Regions from separate parts of the Homo sapiens genome. Here region 1 is linked to region 2. The links are contacts of gene promoters, found by promoter capture Hi-C in human tissues and cell types (Jung and others, 2019). All regions are on one chromosome and are shown on one strand. The core of a region is centred on a gene start or on the middle of the fragment in contact, and the rest is flanking DNA. Distances in the headings are between cores, read along the strand shown. Region 1 overlaps SYK (spleen associated tyrosine kinase). Region 2 holds the start of NFIL3 (nuclear factor, interleukin 3 regulated).

Region 1 (2,700 bases), core at 13-2,512, 540 kb before region 2:
AGCACTTTGGGAGGCTGAGGTGGGTGGATTACCTGAGGTCAGGAGTTCGAGACCAGCCTGGCCAACATGGTGAAATCCCGTCTCTACTAAAAACACAAAAATTAGCCAGGCATGGTGGCAGGCACCTGTAATCCCAGCTACTCTGGTGGCTGAGGCAGGAGAATTGCTTGAGCCCGGGAGGTGGAGGTTGCAGTGAGCTGAGATCGTGCCACTGCACTCTAGCCTGGCCAACAGAGCAAGACTCTGTCTCAAAAAAAAAAAGGAATAAAAAGTGAAACAAGATCAAAGAAAAGTGCTAGCTGTGGAAGCAAACGAACGCTGGCACTCGGGAAACCATGCGTGACAGGGTAGATTTGTGCAGCATCACAACTGAAAAACACAGGTGTTCTTTGATCCAGCAGCTCCTTCCGAGAGCAAACACACACATCTGGTAATGTGCACTCTAGCACGGGCTGCCACGGCAAAAATCTGGAAACTGCCTGACGACTGCTCCGCAGGGTTTGGTCCAATCAGTCATAGCAGATTCACAGGAAGCTCACAATGCAACCCTTTTAAAAGTGACTTATTTGCATGTGCTGACCTAGAAATATGTCTACTATACATGGTTAGGTAGAAAAATTAAAAAGTACAGTGCTCAAAGAATATGCCCCTAGTTTTATGACCAGAAAAAAGTATACACTACCTATTTATGCATGTATCTAGGTTATTCTGAAGACAGCCTAAATTTCATTGCATTTAAGATTTGTCAAAGGTTTACTTTTTTCATCAGTTCAAAATTCAGAAGAAACCTGAAATAACACACATGGTTGTATTGTTCATGACTTGTAAGATCAAAATTTTAAAATAGCACACAAGGTGATGGAAACAGAAGTATAATCAGTTGTATCATTTGGAAGAGAAGTGCCAGGGCACCTTATGGTCTCCAGATTGATGTCCTGAATGTCTCCTTGTGATCCACTGTAGTGTCATGAAATCAGTTTTCACTGAAATCATGTCCCCCTCTCCACCCCAATGAGACCTCACACAGGTGACATCAGCAGAAGATAACCAGACTCCGCTGTGTGCCCCCTGAATCCCAAACCCAGAGAGAGGGTTTTGCTATGCAGTTTTGACCTCTGTACTATCACTTGCTTTTTAAAATTAGGAAATTAGAATGCTTAGATCATTTTTTAATGATGCTAGCAAGTAGTGCATGCTAAAATAATTGACCTGGGTGGAGAACTGATCAAGATGGACGACTAAATGCAACTAGTATATGCTCCTCCGTAGAGACGGACCAAAATAACAAGTACATATTCACACTTCCAATAGATGGTCTAAGAGAGAACACAGATGCAACCAAGGAGCGACAGGAAGCACCAAAAGCAAAGCACAGGGAAACAAGGCAGCCTGCTTGGCCAGGAATGACTGGGAGCTGGGAGAAGCTTCCAGATATGGGGAAAGCATAAATGAGAGATCCCCAGGGCTCCACATTCCAGCCAAGGACTTCTACAATCCTAGCGACAGAAGAACCCCTCGACCCACGTGGGCCTTAAGACTAACATAGGGAGCTGCCTAGGGATCACACAGAGGCATTGCTCCATAGAGGGAACTCACGCTGAGTCCCACAGGCTTCCAAGCTCTGAGTAGCTGCAGCTTGGTGCCATACTGAGAACCAAGTCCCCAAAGGACTGCATCTTGCCCTGGGACTATTGCTGATGCTGCCATCACCAGGCCAAGGACAGAGGGGAGAATGGACACCTTCACACACCCCAGGGACAGATCCCCCTGCTGCTACAGGCTGCTGTGGGGCTGAGACACAAGCAAATCACACCCCCTATAGCTGCCTGCCTACACTGCTCCCCCTGAGAATGTCCGCAGCCTCCCCAGGAGCAGGCCCATAGCCAGCGCCATTCTGAGAGCCAAGCCTCCAAAGGTCTGTGTCCTTCCTTGGGCCAGGGCTGATGCTGCCACTGCCCCGCCACATAGGGAGAAGGGAGGCCAGGCACTTTCACATGCCACAAAAACAAATACCACCACCACTGCTGAGGGCTGCTGTGGGACCAAGGCTCAAGAAGACTGCATATCCCACAGCTACCTGCCTACTCTGCACCTATTGAGAGTGGCCCTACCCTTTCTGGTGGTAGGCCTTCAGGGCAGCCACTGCTGGCAACCTAGAGACCACCCCTCCCTGCGTATCACAGCCAGCAGCTGAATGCACCACCAGGGAGCCTGAGCACAAGTCCATTGGCCTAGTCACATGCCCCAATACTTGAGCATGACATCCTGTTGCAGCCACCGCCAACACCAACATGGACCACTTGGGTTCCAGTGAGTTGCCCTACCACCATTACTGCCATCACCCACATCACACCCACTCCCCAGGAACCCAAGAACCTGCCCACATGCCCAGCCACTGCAGCATCCACACAATCTACCTGAAAGCCCAAGGGTCAGCCTTCTTAGACCTACTAACACCAGTGCTAGTGTATACCGCCCTAGGGCCCAAGGACAGGCATACTCAGCTCACTGCTGTCACCACTGGGGTCTGAAGACTGGCCCACCTAGCATCCTATTCACAGTACACCTTCACAACAGCCTCCACTAATAACCATACCCTAAGGCACTGAGAAAATCACAGGTGTCACTGAGGCTGTTTATGGCCATAGAAATTATACATAGATTAAATACTGCATTCACCCCAAATCAAACCCAAAGTGC
Region 2 (2,975 bases), core at 180-2,679:
CGGCAGCATGAGCAAACTCCATGCTTACCCGGTTGTCTACTTTCCTGTTTAAAATATCCTTAAGGAAAAAAAAAAAACTGTTATAGTGACATTCTTAAAGGCTGAGACTGTCCTACTTTCTTTGTAGCAAGATTATAAAATCACGTAATTAGCTCCCTCTCTCTATGCTCACTGCCAGCAAATTCGGCAGTTACATAATGCAACATTTCCAGGAAACTATTATGTGATTTGTCTTGTCGTGTCTGAAAAAGCAATGACAATAAGGTGAGAAAAAGGGCTGATCGAATGGAATGCATTAAAATTAGGAAGGTGGGGAGGTAAACGTCACAATGGTTCGTCCCAGATTTAAAAATAACAGCTGAGAACATTGAAAGGGCGAACCCCAGTAGTACCCAAGATCAGAATTCAATGCGAGCAATTCTTGCTTTTAGGTTTTGTAGTATCGTTTTAAAACCTGTTTATTTGGGACGTAATATAGACGTAAATAACGATCTAATATCCAACGCTGCGCCTCAATTACCAAATCATTGCACACATACGCGCATATTCCCACATCAGCCCGCAATTCTTGCCAACATTTCACCGTGGGCAGATTATGCAATGTATGAAAGGACAAATCCCACAACCTTCCCGAGGGCTTGTAAAACACGCTGACGACAAACAGGGTGGAAAACGTCTGTGCAGACACAGCCCCTGACACAAACAAACGCCGCGCAGGCATTCTCCGAATGCCGTCACCGTTCACGCTACCAACCCTTTTTCTCACCAAGCAAATTAAGACTATTCCCCATTCCTCAACCCCCCATTCCTCTCCCCCCTACGCCGCCAGCCCCAGAGAAGGAACGAGAAAGAAAGACACTAGAGAGGAAAGAGCATCTTCCCGCTCGGAGAGGGCTCAGCCTGCCTGGCGCTCTTCTTTACCAAAACATCAATTTTCCTGAAATCAGGAGACATTATGCAACAGCAGCGGGGGGAGAGCGCAAACCAGCCAGGACTACGTGCCGGCGCGAAGGCGCTGCAATCAAAGCAGCCACCTTAAGGTGGCGAGTCCCATCCTGACAAGGCAGCAAAAGTTTATGTAATGAATGCCCCGCGCGCACTCGCCGCCGCTGGCGAGCCCAGCTTACAGCCCGACCCCGCACACAGCGCGGCCCGCACCCCGCGCCCGCCCGCCCGCCCGCAGCGCGCCCTGGGAGCGGTCGCCGGGCCCCCGGCCGGCGGTGGGCGGAGCGCTTACCGTGTTCCTGCTCTCGGGCCGGCGAGGAGAAAGAAAGGGGCGGCCGGGAGTCGGGCCGCCGGCGCTCGGGGCTCGGGCCGGGCCGGGCCTCCGGGGCCGCGGCGGGAGGCGGGCGGCGGCGAGGGCGCGGCGCGGGAGGCGGGCGGGCGCGCCGGGTCCGCGGGCGCCGTGGCCGCGCGGAGAGATGTGTGTTAGTAGGTCAGTTCCGAGCGCCGCGCTACGTCGCCGCCCGCCAGCCCCGCGTGACTGGCGGCCGCGGCCCCAATCGCCGCGCCCGCACCCGCCCCCGGCCCGCCGCCAATGGCCGCGGCCGGCAGGGGCGGGCCGGGGCGGGCACTCCGCGGCCCCGCCCCGCCTCCCCGCCCTCAGCTCCCCCTCCGCGGCGGCGCCACTACCAGCTCGCGTCCCTCCCCGGCCAGGGCCACCGCCGTCCGAGCGCCCGCGAGGGCTGGCGCCCCATTCCCGGCGCAACGAGTGTTGCGCAACGGCCCACGCGGCCGACACGACCGGAGCGAGCCTGCGGAGGAGCCCGGGAGCCCCCCGTCCCACCGCCCCGTCCGCTCTTGGCTCCCTTCACCCTCCCGGTCGCCGCGGTGGCTCTGCGCTCCCCGCGACCCTCACTTGCTCGCAGAGGCGCTTTTTGTCTTCCTGAGAGCCGCAGCCTGCTGGGCTACCTGTTGCCGACTGAGCACTGCGGGTTGCGGCTACCCGGGCGTGGCCCGGACCTCGGCCTCCCCTTCCCCGCACACTCCCGAGAGGAGCCCTCTACCTTGGGGTGGGCAGGAGGGAAGGCGGGGGGTGGCGGCTGGCAAGCTGCCAACACTCGGGGCGCGCTGCGGCGGGGAAGGGGTTGGCGCGGCCGGGCAGCTGCGCAGGGCTGCGCGGCGGAGGCAGCGATTAAAATGTCCCGGCGCCTCTCCCGAGAGCCGCGACGGCCCGGAGCCGGGAGGGAAAGCTCCACGCACAAACACCGCCCCCTGCACAATTAGGGCGAAGATGACGGCTGCAAAGTTGTTGCGTAACACGACTGGGAAACGAGGCTCGCTGAGGTCCATCTACCCACCCCCGCCACGCGGGTGCGGCGTTCCTCGGAGGATGTGAAGGTCCGCGCTCGGGTGCCCCCGCTGGGACGCCCACTGTCGTTTGGTGCTGGGGCTTGAGACGACCGCGCGGGATCTCTTCCTGTGATTTTGAGCTGATAGCTGCTTAGTGTTATTTCTGCGTCTAACTGGATACGGTAGTCTTCTCTCCCAAATTCCCGGGCTACGGAAGAGACGTAAAAAAATGGAAAAAAGAGCACCTAGCCGCGACTTCTTAAGTCGTCGCGCTAGACTGTCAAGGCACGTGGCACACTCCCTGCGTTTACCGATACACGGATAGTGGTCAGTGCTGGCCTTGGCGAAGGGAGCCATGTTCCCGACAGTGACTCACAGGCTTGCCCAAATACGGAGTGTGGCAGGTGGGCAGGACCTCCACCAGCCAGCTCCCTCCTGGTCTCCTTGAACTACGTGGGGGCTGGGCCGAGTGCCTCCACGACTTTCCACTTCTTTTTGCTCCTTTCGTTTTTAAAAAGCAAAAACCAAAGTAAAGAGAAGAGCAGAGTGAACACCCAGGTACCATCCCTAGTGTCTGCCATGAGCAGCAGATCTATCTACTCGCCAAGATTGTCTTTTCTACCTTTCCCCTTCTTGCACAGTTAATATCATAATAACGCAAGTCATATTTAAAAAATTTTTAT

The links. Contacts are between HindIII fragments. The study calls those that stand out against the background at their distance.
Region 1: a fragment that was not itself captured here is called in contact with the fragment with the promoter of NFIL3 in region 2 in 1 of the 25 tissues and cell types used here (lymphoblastoid cells).

The regions. Positions count from the first base shown.
Region 1 is chr9:90,881,430-90,884,129 of GRCh38, forward strand. All of the region lies in intron 11 of SYK (spleen associated tyrosine kinase), which reads left to right. Among named protein-coding and RNA genes, the nearest start is that of SYK, 81 kb to the left of the region's middle. The HindIII fragment of the contact is 5,960 bases long and covers 1-2,700 here.
Region 2 is chr9:91,422,403-91,425,377 of GRCh38, forward strand. It overlaps NFIL3 (nuclear factor, interleukin 3 regulated), which reads right to left and starts at 1,430. Exons shown (of 2, transcript NM_005384.3): 1 at 1,238-1,430. It overlaps LOC105376146 (synapsin-1), which reads left to right and starts at 1,631. Exons shown (of 2, transcript NR_188612.1): 1 at 1,631-2,975. RefSeq lists a silencer at 1,368-1,767. The HindIII fragment of the contact is 26,857 bases long and covers 1-2,975 here.